5 separate regions of the Homo sapiens genome follow, and all the other regions are linked to region 2. The links are contacts of gene promoters, found by promoter capture Hi-C in blood cells and fetal thymus (Javierre and others, 2016). All regions are on one chromosome and are shown on one strand. Each heading gives the region's core, a stretch centred on a gene start or on the middle of the fragment in contact. The rest is flanking DNA. Distances are from core to core; before and after follow the strand shown.

What was found. Contacts are between HindIII fragments. The CHiCAGO score rates a contact against its expected background, and 5 or more counts as called.
Region 1: a contact is called between a fragment that was not itself captured here and the fragment with the promoter of GLRX2 in region 2, in 1 of 17 cell types (neutrophils). The highest score is 6.2, in neutrophils.
Region 3: a contact is called between a fragment that was not itself captured here and the fragment with the promoter of GLRX2 in region 2, in 1 of 17 cell types (total B cells). The highest score is 5.8, in total B cells.
Region 4: a fragment that was not itself captured here is called in contact with the fragment with the promoter of GLRX2 in region 2 in 1 of 17 cell types (neutrophils); the score reaches 6.0 in neutrophils.
Region 5: a contact is called between a fragment that was not itself captured here and the fragment with the promoter of GLRX2 in region 2, in 1 of 17 cell types (monocytes). The highest score is 7.4, in monocytes.

The regions. Positions count from the first base shown.
Region 1 is chr1:192,592,666-192,595,365 of GRCh38, forward strand. LOC105371664 (a long non-coding RNA gene) reads right to left here. Exons shown (of 5, transcript XR_002958418.2): 3 at 934-992. Among named protein-coding and RNA genes, the nearest start is that of RGS1, 18 kb to the left of the region's middle. The HindIII fragment of the contact is 3,349 bases long and covers 1-2,700 here.
Region 2 is chr1:193,104,126-193,106,825 of GRCh38, forward strand. It overlaps GLRX2 (glutaredoxin 2), which reads right to left and starts at 1,289. Exons shown (of 4, transcript NM_197962.3): 1 at 1,139-1,289. The coding sequence starts at 1,257. RefSeq lists silencers at 1,078-1,177, 1,154-1,448, 1,228-1,467. The HindIII fragment of the contact is 5,966 bases long and covers 1-2,700 here.
Region 3 is chr1:192,616,730-192,619,553 of GRCh38, forward strand. All of the region lies in intron 2 of LOC105371664 (a long non-coding RNA gene), which reads right to left. All of the region lies in intron 1 of LOC107985241 (a long non-coding RNA gene), which reads left to right. Among named protein-coding and RNA genes, the nearest start is that of RGS13, 18 kb to the right of the region's middle. The HindIII fragment of the contact is 1,035 bases long and covers 948-1,982 here.
Region 4 is chr1:192,698,167-192,701,013 of GRCh38, forward strand. No RefSeq gene overlaps it. Among named protein-coding and RNA genes, the nearest start is that of MIR4426, 17 kb to the right of the region's middle. The HindIII fragment of the contact is 2,300 bases long and covers 367-2,666 here.
Region 5 is chr1:192,787,681-192,790,380 of GRCh38, forward strand. The region is part of intron 1 of LOC105371665 (a long non-coding RNA gene); the gene reads right to left. Among named protein-coding and RNA genes, the nearest start is that of RGS2, 20 kb to the right of the region's middle. The HindIII fragment of the contact is 744 bases long and covers 885-1,628 here.

The DNA of each region.
Region 1 (2,700 bases), core at 109-2,608, 510 kb before region 2:
TGACTCCTCCTATGGTCAGAATTCAGCCCCTTTCTTTTACAGTCTTCTTATGGTTCAAGAGTTTTTTCTAGGAGCTGTGGTTTCTGTTTCTCTCATTTGGGCATTTGTTTATCCAGTTTCTGAGGTAGGATGATGTTGTATTTCTGCTAGGCTCTTTTCCAAAGATGAATCTCCTTGGCCTGGGTTACTTTCTTTTCCCATTTATTAAAATGAACTCACGCCTCAGCCTCTAGAACGTAATTATGACAGAAACAGTTTCTAATTACAGCAGTTCACATTTATTCCAGGACGATGCCTGACTTTAACAACTTTGTTTACTCACATAAAGCAAAAGCTAAATCCTTGCTTTTAGTTGTATCATTAAAAAAATGTCACTGGTAAAATGAAGCATCTTCCTTTAATGCTCTGAAGTCTAAATTGAGAACATTTACAAAAGCCTCTGAGGGCTCCTGACCATAGGAAGGACATTACTCAGTCAACAAGGACCTATTAAATATCTGTTCTACACCAATAGTGTCTGAGAGGAAATATGAGGCAGGAAAGCATTATAAATGGGCTTTCTGCCTAACTAAGTGATTTCTCATCCACTCTAGGAGAGGGAAACAAAAAGCCACACTATTGTATTCCACTATCTGGAATCCTAGAATGTCATATCTAGAAAGGAGATCAGAAGTTGTCTAACCTACTCTTCCCATTTGTAGATTATGAAGCCCCAGTGCAAAGAGATTAAATGGTTTATTCTAGGACACCCTAGTAATAAAGTCACAAAGGTAAAATTAAAAATGAGTAGACAGAGCACAGGAGCCTGACTCAGATGCAAAAGTTTCGTAACCTGTCCCATGCTGTCTCCCTGACTCTCTTGGTCCATTTATGTAACTGTAACAGAGTAGCTGAGACTGGGTAATTTATAATGAACAGAAATTTATTTCTTACCAGTCTGGAGGCTGGGAAGTCCAAGATCATGATGTAAGCATCTGATGAGGGCTTTCGTCCTGCATCATCCCATGGCAGAAGGCAGAAAGGCCAAGAGAGGGCAAGGACAAGGGAGACAGAAAATAAAGAAGGGTCAAACTCCCCCTTTTATAACAAACCTACTTTTGCAATATCTATATTAATTCATTCACTCAGCTCTTATGGCCTAATTACCTCTCATTAGGCCCCACTTCCCAAAACAGTTGCTTTGGGGATTAAGTTTCCAACACATGATTTTGGGAAGACACATTCAAATCATAACACTGACTAAAACTAGTACAGAAAATTGTAACATGGTAACTATTTCAGTAATACTTTGGAAATACAATGCTCTAGTAATATTTCAGTAATGCAATGCAGCAGACCGTTGCCTGTTTTCATTAACTACACTAGAACAGAACAGTTTACTGTGTTCAGAATTACACATCCATAGCAAAGCTATGACCTACAAACGTTCTCAAGGTGAACGTGTCAATAACACTATATGAATTTTTGAACAATAACTAACAGAGCCTCACTGTGTATCTAGCTAGTGAGTCTTCTGCATACCAGCATCAGGTAAATTGCTTTATTCCAACTCCTCGTTAACAGTCACTAATAGCCGATACACTGATATACCACTTAGATATTTCCAATTATCTCATAGTCTATCTGTGTAATTTGATGAGCTATTATCCTCAAAGCTAGAAAAAAAGTGAAACTCTACTAGACATTTCTGAGAAAATTGCTGCCAGTAATTTGAATGTGTTGCATCGACTAAGTGAATTGAGCAAAATTTATCTTCCCTTTTACTTTTCCCTCATCTTTATTCTGCTTTTCTATCATTTCTCACCTTTCTCTCTACCTGCCCTTACCCTTAATCAATATCTACTTTGATTCATTAGAAAAGCATTATTCATTTCCACAGCATTAAATTGTCCACCTTCAGAGCATTTAATCATTACCTGTTTTTCAAAATGACTTGTGTGACCTACACCTAAACACTGCAGTGAAAAATGGTCTAGATCTTCTTTTGTGCCCCCACTCTCCCCAAACACAGGCTTATCACAGCACTGCTAACATATATTTGTATAATTTATTTAAATGATACTGCAATGGACTGTAATATCTTTGAAGGGAAAATGTCATATTCATTTTTGCATCTCAACTCCCTATCATTCCTGGCAAATATGCGTGTTTGCAAAATGAATGATAATATCACTCAATTCATCAATAACCTTTAACAACAGTGTTTACTATAATATTTGGGTTGGAAATGTGAAAGGAAGACAAAAACTGAACAGTTCCTGTGGGTAGCTAAAACAGAGGAGAAAGGGAAAAAACATTCTCCTTTGGTTCAGTAGCAGTTTTCCATGGAATAGAAAACATTGCAATCTTTACTCAGGTATTATATGTTTTTCTGGATGAAAGTCTTATTTTGGGTTGCATTATTTTCATCATTTGCAATAAATGTATGCCCTTTTAATGAGACTTTGTGTTTAATCTTATTGTTCTCTTACCATAATTATCGTATATCCGATAGAAAGAGTTTTTCCTCAGAGCAGATTAGAATCACAGGGGACAGAAAGAATATGGGTGGAAAAGAGAAGACGTTCTGCATAAGAAAGGGTACAAAGTTGCTATAGCAGTTCTTGAAAGAAACTGATAGCTACAAATTGAGAAAAGAAAGAAAGAATAAAGGAGAGAAAGGGGCCAGAAAACTCAATAGGGGTAGGGAGCAGGAGGGGT
Region 2 (2,700 bases), core at 39-2,538:
AGAATGTTTTCTTGGGTAGTGAGAGGAGGTAGGAGGTGCATTCTGAAATATTACCCAAATAAAAGTTTCTGGAAGACACCCTTTCCCTTCAATTTCTAGTTGACCTTGGTAAAAACTGTCGCGAACTATGAATAGAAACATGCACGGAGGAAGTAAGTGCACAATAAACATTTCATTTCAACACAGATGAAGCACCTAGTCATGCCACATTTATGGAGCGCCTACTGTGTGCTAAGTAGGCAAAGTGCTATATTGACCCCAGGGATACGCAGAAAAAAACACGGCGGGGCCTCAAAGAGCTGTCAAACACTTAACAGCCTGTGATTAGCCCTTCAGGAGGGGTCTCTAGCTTGGTCTGGAAAGTTAAACTTGAGATTCCTAGAATCTTGCAAAACTGATAGAAGCTCCCAGATCAAGTAGATAGCGAGACAGACTCTCCGGCCAAGTGCGCAGTGGCAGGCGCGGAAGTGCGAGCCGGCAGGACCGCCAGGCACCAGCCGCGCGGGCGTGGGCAGCACAGCCGCAGTTCCCTTCCACTGCAGGTCCCGAAGCCGCTGATATTCCAAACGAGGAAGTGTAAGGAAAGCACTATCCTCGGTCTAGCCGCAGGCGGCATCACCATCAGTCAGCCTCTATCCTAAAAGCTCTGGCCATTCAGCGGGAATCATCGCCTTCACTTCCTGCAGTAGGGTGGCTAAGTTTAGCAAACAAGAATGCAGGACGCCCGGTCAAATTAGAATTGTAACCAAACACCAGAAAACTGTTCCGTTTTTCCTATGTCCACTGCAGTATTTGGGACACACTTGGACTAAGAATCATTCGCTCTTTCAGAGAAATTCCAATTGATTGCGGCGTCTTGTATTTTATGTAGCAATTCACAGAGGGATGGCCTAAGTGAACATGAGTGAAGTATTTTCAACGCGAGAGTCACAGGCTCCTGAAGTCAGCACAGCCGCGGAGGGCACCCTTCCCTGCCCATCCCTCGAGCGCCTCTGCGTGTTATGACTCAGAGCCCACGCGCTAGTACGCCTCGCCCACCCGGCGCCGGGGCAAAGGGGCACCTCCGCCCACCGCTTTCTCCAGACCCCCGCAAGGCCTGCGCACCACGCCGCGGCACTCCTGCCCGCTGACCCCGTACCCAGAGGCCGCAGCTGCCGCAGCTCCCGCAGCTCCCGCCGCCCTGTCAAGCCAGCCTGCCGAGCCGCTCCTGCTCCAAACCAGCCGCGTCCCCGCCAGCGCCGCGCGGCGCCAAATCATGGTCAGAGCCCGGATCTGCAGCGAGCTCTACTGCCGGACACCGCGGATCCCGGGAGCCCGCCTCCTCCGGCCCGGCCCCCGCCTTGCCCCGCCCCGTCCCGCCCCTCCGGACTGCCCGCGCCGCCGCCGGTCACCTCCTCGCAGCTGAGCGCGTCCTCCCAGGGCTGCCCGAGCGCTGGATTCCAGCGAGTGCCACCCACGTGTAAACATCCTTTAGAGGGGAGAAGCGGCTCACTTGCTTATCTCGAGGGTTCATCCGAGCCCCGCCTCTGGATTCTTTTAGGTTTAGGGACGCTCATAAAGGCTCCCAGGCACTTGGAAGCAGTGCATGAGGATGGTGGCAGACATGCTGGGGAAACGGAGGAGAAAAAACATGACCATCCAAAACAGAATCAAAGTGGTGCCTCAGATGTTTCCAACTACCTGTTACACAAGTTTTTGTGTGGATGAAATAAGAGCCTAAATATATCCTCTTATAATTAGGCAATTGGTCGAGACCCAATGTAAATTATGGGGATATTGGGGTTTACATCCATAATTAAAAGAAAAAATCCGGTGTTGAAGGTTTACTCCAAAGAAGACAAAGATTATTTCCCACCACCTGCCAAAAAAAAAAAATTAGGAAACAAAACAAAAGAAATTAGCACAGAGATGTTTCACCATGGCTTTGGAAATGGGCGATTGCTGTTGACAGGATTATTTAAGCCACTCAGTGGTGGTAATAATAGCCTTTGTGCGTCACTATTTAAGGTTGGGGGTAAGCCTTTATTTACTGAGGACACTGAAATTCATCTTAAAGTCAAAGGTCAAATGGTACATCTAAAATTCTAAACAATTATTACAACAATCCAGAGCTTTTTTGATTCTTCATGTTCAACTAAGTGTAAAATTCATGTTACCAAAGTACAAAATAAGAACTTGTATTTCTGACAGTTCTTTTCCAACATTCAAATGGGCTATGTTTGATTACTTAATAAAAGGATGGAAGTTAGTTGCAAAAATAAATACCCCCAAAGGGTAGGAATTCATTCTTTTTAAAGACAAATTTGACTTTGAAAATTAAGGCATGTGGCCAGGCGCGATGGCCTGTCCTGTAATGTGGCCATTACAGGACTGCCCGCTGACCCCGTACCCAGAGGCCGCAGCTGCCGCAGCTCCCGCAGTGGCCAGTCCTGTAATCCCAGCACTTTAGGAAGCCGAGGCGGGCGGGTCACCTGAGGTTGGGGGTTCAAGACCAGCCCCTCCAATATTGGTGAAACGCCGTCTCTACTAAAAATACAAAATTAGCCGGGCGTGGTGGCGCATGCCCGTAATCCCAGCTACTCGGGAGGCTGAGGCAGGAGAATCGCTTGAATCCATGAGGCAGAGTTTGCAGTGAGCCAAGATCACACGATTGCACTCCAGCCTGGGCAACAAGAGCAAAACTCCGTCTCATAAAAAAAT
Region 3 (2,824 bases), core at 215-2,714, 490 kb before region 2:
ATTACAAATTATCACAGAAGGCTTCATTTTTTTCATCTGCAGCCCAGGGCCAAGAGAGCTAAGCTTTCTTGTTGTCTCCTATGCCACTGGAAAGATATTTTCTAGTTCAACCTATTTCTGATGGTTATCCCTCTGAAAAACACAGATTAGAGGGTTGGTGGATCTCAATACAAACTTCCCACATGTACATGCATCATACCCCAGGTGCTAGCTTCCTTCTTTTTCCTTAACCAGGAAAGAAACAAAAAAGATTATTTGCCAGGCTGAGTCACAATTCCAGTTTTCCATCCTACCATTATGATTTTCAATTCCCACTTTGTATAGGAAATTGAGAATTTTCCTTTCTTACTAGTAAGAGCAACCATGAATTTAAAATAATTTTAAAACTATTTTAGCCAGAAAATCTCTTTGTTTTGTAATGGAAGCATTTTCAGTTACTTGGTTGGTTCAAAACATTGCTGGAAATAAAAATAGTCACCTTCTTTCCCATTCATTTACAATCTCCTTGAATTGACAGCAACAGTGTACATAAGCTAGGGGTAACTACAGATAAAATACTGCTTTCCATTATAAGTGAAAACACTGTTCTCAAATAATGGCCATGATCACTAATCTTTTAAAGGTATATATAGTGAATTGGCATTATCATGGGAAAATATTATCAGCAACAAAATAATATTAATAAAATTTATCAATTATTAAGCACTTGAGATGTATTAGTTATTACTAATCCTTATAATAATTTTCCTCAGAAAACTAACATTTATAATATAAAGTAACTTGTTCATAATCATGCACATAGTTTGATGACTCAGTTGGGAATATAGGTCCTTCTCTTTCTAACACCAAAATTGGTTATCTGTACATCAAGGGCTTCCATATGTCATAATTGACCATGATTCATGTTGCTTATTTGGGATTTGTTTATCTAGCAACTCTTTAACTCAAGCTTGCCCAAGTAAAACTCTCTATCTTTGTCTTGTTCGCTATATTCACGTCTATCAGCATGTATATGCAGAACTTATTTAATCTGTAAACCTGCCTAAATTGTTGCAAATAGAGATTAAAGTCATAAAAAATATGCAAAATGCAATTAAGCATACAGACTGTGTCTTATTTATCTGTATAATCTACTGTTTCACATAGTACATGACTTTTTAATACATAAAGTCAAAGTGATCTGAAAATACTTTAATTCCTAATATTGTAAATATTTATCTAAGTGCTTCATAAAGTACCTTATAGCTTACAATAAAATATATTATAAATACAATCTTTCTTATAAATATTGAAACATCAGTCCTTAGCACTATGTCTATAAAAACCTGGAACATTTATTTTATGCAAAAAAAAAGAGAACAGCTGAATTTTAAGATTTAAAAATTTAAAACCATAATCTGTCAAGTAATAAATGTGTGAAATTTCACTGGGGCCTGTTGTGGGGTGGGGGGAGGCGGGAGGGATAGCATTAGGAGATATACCTAGTGTTAAATGACGAGTTAATGGGTGCAGCACACCAACATGGCACATGTATACATATGTAACTAACCTGCACGTTGTGCACATGTACCCTAAAACTTAAAGTATAATTTAAAATATATATATATGAAATAAAAAAATAAGTGTGTGAAATTTAACAAATTTAAGTGTGCAAAAATCTTTATTTTTTTAAAGTGGACATATGTTCTGTCGGTAAGTTTAGACTTGCTATGAAATAAACCACAATGTAACTTAAGCCATGGAGTTCCGGGAGGACTGTGGCATCTTGATGTGATCCATGGCAATAACCAAAAAATAGGACACATTTCTGTCATCCCTCACCCTCCTCCACTTCCAGGATTGGCCTGGGACAGGAAGGTATAGCCACCCTGTGTTATAACTAAGTAACAAATATTAGTTTCCTGAGGAAAATTATTATAAGGATTAGTAATAACTAATACATTCCATTGCTTAGTAACTGGCTCTCATCTTCTCAGGAAAGAAGCTTCTTGCTGCTACTCAGACTTTTTTTCCCTTCTCTGATACTAAAACTCTTTATTTAACCTGGGAACAGAGGTGGAAAAATTTCTACTTGCCCCCAAAATTTATATTTTATATTCTGATTTAGGCATTTGAACTTTGAAAGCCCAGTAATCCTATTTTGTTGTTGTAGTTGTGTATCACCTGCACGCTGTGTATCATCCTTCCCTGAAGCAGTGGAAGCTGCAGGTCTGGCTGCCCAGATGTTTGGGATAGGTGGGAGTGGTAGAGTGTGGAAAGGTAAAGAAATTTTTAGAGAAAGAAAGTGATTTGCCTACTTGATCTACCAAGAAAAGACAAGTCGTGGAAGCCAATAAAAGTTGGCTTAAACAGGAGTAAAGATATTAGCTTGAACCACATAAAGTTATCCATATGCTACCATTTTTACCTTATAAAAACACAATTTCATATGGTTCAACCTAATAAAAGTGTTATGTTATGAGTCAGTTCATCTCACATAATGTATTCTCTCTTCAGCAGAAATCAAGGACCATTCTCAATCTTTATTTCCATGTTAAGGAGGAATATAATTTCCTTCATAATGCCATCCTAAGAGACTAGGGTTGTCAACTGTCCATCATCAAAGAGTTTTTCCATTTCATTATAATGTAAAGGCTATTTGGGCAGATTGTGAAGCCTAGGGAGTGGTACAGTATACTTTGGGGTATAAGAGTGTACACATTGAAGCCAGATGGCCTGGATTCTAACGCCCAATCCACAATCCACTATTTGCTAGCTGTATGACCTTTTTATGCCCCAATTTTGAAACATCTATAATGCAGGGATAATCACAGTATCTATTTTA
Region 4 (2,847 bases), core at 267-2,766, 410 kb before region 2:
TGGCTGACCCCCTAAAGCCAACCCCACTTACCAGGATATTTTTCTTTCTTAATTTTACTTATAGTGGTCCCCAGTCTTAGAAGATACCTTCTCCACTGCGCTACTCAAATGTGACCCATGCTTTAAGACAAGACAGCACCAAGAATTTCAAAAAGCAAATGAAGCTCTCAGAAGTGATTTATTTGGACCACGTAAATGTGGGCTACAGATTTCTGTAGACCTCACAGCTCTAGGGTATTACACTTTCTCATTCTTCCTACTTATCTCATTTATGTTATCTGCCTGGCCCTATGAGAATTTACATTAATACTTAATAATAAGTTTTAATTCATAATAAGCCTAATAAGCTTCATAATAAGCCTAATAAGCTTCATAATAAGCCTAAATCATCCTTCCAAGAAATTGTCCACTGTGATGTCCATATTGACCTCTTCCTTTTCAGGAGAAGTTTTATGCTATGAAGAAAACTAAAAAAATTCAACACAACTCGAGTACTAAAATTTCTCACAACTTAATGGCTCCTGTTAAGAGAAGCAAAGTATTAAAACAGTGTACTAAAGTCAGCTGTTCTTTAAAATAGTCACAGAAATTATGTTATCAGACTGGCAAAAAAAAAAAAAAAAAAAATGCTCACCTGGGTCAATATGAGCCATCCTGCAATTTTTGAAAGACCAAAGACCACATAAAACAGAGCTTTTTTTTTTTTTGCTGTGTCACCCAGGCTGCAGTGCAGTGATGCAATCTGGGCTGCAACTTCGCCTCCTGGGCTCAAGCAGTCCTCCCACCTCAGCCTCCTGAGTAGCTGCGACCACAGGCGCATGCCACCACGTTCAGCTAATTTTTATATTTTTAGTAGAGACGGAGTTTCGCCATGTCGCCCGGGCTGGTCTCGAACTCTTGGGCTCAAGCGATCCACCTGCCTCAGCCTCCCATAGTGCTGGGATTACAGGCATCAGCCACCGCATCCAGCCAAAGACAAGGTTCTTAACAAGTATTGTGTGAGTGTTCTTTTACAAAGCAGATATAAACCTGTGTGTAATAGGCAAAGGGTATATAAAGGTGATGATTTTTCTGTGAACTACTAACTCTTTTTTTTTCTAACTCTCTTTAGTCCCTAAAAATAAACCCTATCATATTAAATCAAGAACATCATAAGTAAATGTTGGCAAAATACAGTTAGGTGAACAGTGGCTGTTCTCAAAAAGGCTCAATAAACATAGTAGAAGTTATAACAAATTAATGATAAATAAAGCACAGTGAAAATGTAGTGATATATCTGTGCATATTTATAAATGTGTGTTAAATTATTTAAAAGAGATTCTACCTGAGTCTAGTTTATAACATGTAAGATTTTAGTTTTCTCTAAAATACAATTGAGATAAAAATTTAGCAATACTTTATTAAGATATGACCTTCATATTTATTTTATCTCAAAAGTTTTTTAACAGGACAAAAAGCACTTTCCAAACTGAATTATATATATTAGGAAAGTCCATATATGTGTGAAGATCTTTATTAACTATCAGGATTTTTGTAAATATAAATTATGTCCATTGATTATCTCACTCCTTTAGTTTTCCAACTGAAATAGTTCTACTTCTCCTTTTTTCTATGATTATATCAAACACTTTACAGTGCTTCAGCAAAGCTATACACCCCCTGCCCCAAAAGGAGAAAATTTCCTTTTAGATAATATGGCATTTTTCAAAAGAAAAGGGAAGGACAAAAGAACTTAATACTTATCATGTGCCTACTGTGTTCAGTTCTATGTAAGACACCTTCAAAAATTTTTATAACCTTACAATAATCATCAGAGAGAGGCAGTATTACATTCAGTTTATAGATAGAAAAATGACGTCTCAGAGAATTTAAGAATATTGTCTAATCTCTTAAATGGAAAATGTGGAATTCAACTGAAGCATATCTGACTCCAGTCTTTGGTTTTTGAACTATTCATACCGGTCATCAGTTTTCTCCTTCTTTGCAAAAGAATCTTGCCTATAGTGGTCAGTCGGGTCCACTTAGTTCAGTTATCTGTATATTAAATAATACCCCAAATATTCCCTTTTCCAGCATTTTATGAGATACCCAAAACTTTAATTGATAATGAAAATAATAAATAATCCTAAGTATTAATAAGTTACATATTGATATGTTTAGAAATATTTCTATATATATGAATGCATTAAACAAATAGGTCATATGCATAGCATTCATGATAAGTATTTGGTAGATAAAAATGAGGATCTGAATAAACTTCCATGTCCTTCTCACAGTGGAACTGGTAAAACACTTTAGCTGGTAAAACAGTAACTGGTAAAACACTTAGCCATACTAATGGCTAATAAAATAGTCTGTTCTGGTGTGAATTTCTCTTTTATTTAGCATCTTGTTTTTCTTTAGTGGGTAATTCACTGGTTTTGTGCAATCCTAATCTACTATGAACATTGATTTCTTGAGTATCCAGATATTATTTTCAGAATCTAGTTTTTCACATGCTGAAAGTTCAAGTTTGAGATCCATCACTACATGGCAATAATATTTACTCATGATGAAAATATTTGCCAGTCACTATGTTAAATATCTTGCATTTACTGTCTTATATCCTATTTACAAAACCTTGCAAGGTAGATATTTTTACTTCCTTTTGTAGTTGAAAAAACTCAAGCTTATGGGGATTTTGTAAATTCTAAACTCACACAGTTGGGAAATGGTGAACTGTAATTCAGATGCAGACTGTCTAATTCTAAGCTGCATACTCACCCACCTTACAGCTGAGGAGGGAATGTTGTTCTAATAACAAGCCTTGCAAAATGTCAGCTGCATGCTTTACATGCTAACCAAGAT
Region 5 (2,700 bases), core at 7-2,506, 320 kb before region 2:
AGTATTAGAATGAACAAAGTGTCAAGTCATGGAGTTAGGAGGACAAAACAAAATGCTAGGATAATACGGTTCACGTTGCATTTCGCATTTTTAAGAATATATTCCATGACTTCTAAAATTATTCCAAGACTTTACTACTCAAATCTTTCTTTTTTAGCATGTTTATTATGTTGTGATCCACGTCAATTTTATCTTCTCCAATTGTTAACTGGCCACATTCCCAAATTCTCATTTATCAATGGCTTTTCTGTTGACAACTTCATTAAATTCTACATCTTTTGCAAATTTTACTATTATGCTTTGAATTACATTTACATTGTATATGAGTGGTTTGTTAATCACCAAGACTAATAATAAGTGGGGAGGAGTTTTGGGTGGGAAATATATAGTCTTCTGTTCATTCATGAATATTTTCTTATGTGATGGCTTTGGGGCTCCCTGTGCACTCAATTTGGGGACTAAGGTAATGAATAATCAGAAAAGAAAGACACCCTATACCCTGTGAGTGTAAAAATGAGACTTTGTTTGGCACACAGTAAGCCTCTAATGGTTTCTTATTTGTATTTTTTAAAATAACGCAATAAGCAGAAGCCACTGGCAGAAACAAGGAGAGAAGAAAGGCGTAACGAATCAGTGATGGAACAGGAAGGAATCAACTGAGGGAAGCAAAGGGCTGCTGAGTCACAAGCATGACAGGCAACTAGAATCAGCCCGGGCTCCCCAGAGCTGCTGCTCATCCTGAACACTGCGGGCTTGCTCAGAATTTCCTGGCTGTCCTTTCAGACTTCGTGTGCATCGTGACAATACACCACTCTCACCTAACGGAATCTAAGGATGTCGCTACCCTGAAATAGCCAAATATTCCAGTTGAATCTATTTGTTAAAGCTTAGTCAACCAGATTTGTTTCTAAGGAGACACTGACAATAAAAATAAAAATGAAAAACAGAAAAACATTATTTTCCCTGCATAAAAGAGCCCTTTTCTTTTTAGATCTTCCTGAGTCTCAAAACTGTTCTCTTCCTTGAGTTTCAACAAATCCCAAAGGACTCTTTCTTCAACTTTCACATAAAAGAAAACAATTCCTTAATAATATATTAAGTGTATCATTAGCAATTTACAATTCACAAAGCATTGTATATCACATTTACAAACGGAGGGTTTAAATATAACAAACCCTGTAAATGGAATGTAGAAATGTTCATTTTTAATAAGATCCCTAGTTAACTAATCAATCCCTTATTTCACATTTTCCACTACTAAATGAGAATCCACTTCCAGTTTTACCTTTCTAGGAATATTTGTATGTCATCTAAAGTTGTGAGTGTTTGTTTGTTTGTTTGTTTATTTGTTTTGAGACAGGTTCTTGCTCTGTCGCCCAGGCTGAAGTCCTACAGCACTATTGCAGCTCACTGCGGCCTCGACCTCGTAGGCTCAAATGAACCTCCCACCTCAGCCCCCTGAGTAGCTGGGACTACAGGCACACACCACCACTCCTAGCTAATTTTTGTATTTTTGGAGACAGAGGGTTTCTTTATGTTGCCCAGGTTAGTTGTGTTTAAAAACTCTTTAGCCACACATACATGAAGAGTCTCTTGGTTTATTTCATAAATTACTAGTATCATCTATAAGCTTTTCATTCACTAATTCATTATTTTATTCAACAATTGTATATTGAGCAGACACTTACTATGTACCCAGTAATGCATTAGGGACTGGATCTCAGTAGCTTAACTTTCAGAGTCAAACTTTTGGAGACCATCATGACACAGCCAGGATAGCCATGAGGAGACCTGTTGATGGCAAACCAAGAGGAGCTTCCTAAGGAAACACTAAACGCATGTGACTAAATTCTACAGTAGAAAAATTACAGACTTGGAATTCAAATCCCAGCTCTGCCATTGACTTGCTTGCTATTGATTTGGGGCAGTGCCTTTGCCTCTCCAAACACCTATAAAATGGGAACAATAGCACCTATCTCATTGTGGCACCAGGGTAGGACATAATGGTAATATATGTGAAGCGTCTGGTCAGTCAACATCTAATAAGTGTTCAATAACAAACAACTGCTGTTCTTATGAAAGGGGGGTAGCCTTTTTTCTAAGGGAGGTTCTTGGAAACCCCAATATTATGTATTATTAACATTATTATTTTTAGATGGAAAAAACTTAAGCACAGAGAAGTTAAACCATTTATTCATGTAACAATTTTTTTAGCACTATGGGGGGTACTAATCTCTGCAAATACAGGATTCAGAGGACAGAGTTTGAACCCAGCGCATTCACTGTCTCACAGAGGAGACACAGGATAGTGCTAAGTGCCCCAGAAAGGGAAGAACAGGTTTGTGGGAAAACACAGAGAATGAGCTCATTCAGAATGCAGGGTAGAGTGGGTGACAAGGAGGCTCCCCAGAGGGAAAGTCCTAGTTGAGCTGGAAAGGAAGCATCCTGACCAAAGCCTGGCCTTGAAACCAAATCGCTGTCTCCAAGATCAGTGAACTTCCTACTATGCCAAAGCCTCTTTAATTAAATTCAATTAAATGTTTTCTTAGCACCCACTCTATGGAAAAGTCTGTCCTAGATGGAAACAAAGGTGAATCATTATAGTTCTTATCTCATGAAAGCAAAGGCAAATAAGACAGGCATTCAGATAACCAACTCAAAACATAAAGAGGCAAAAGAGAGTTTCATATTAAAAATCAG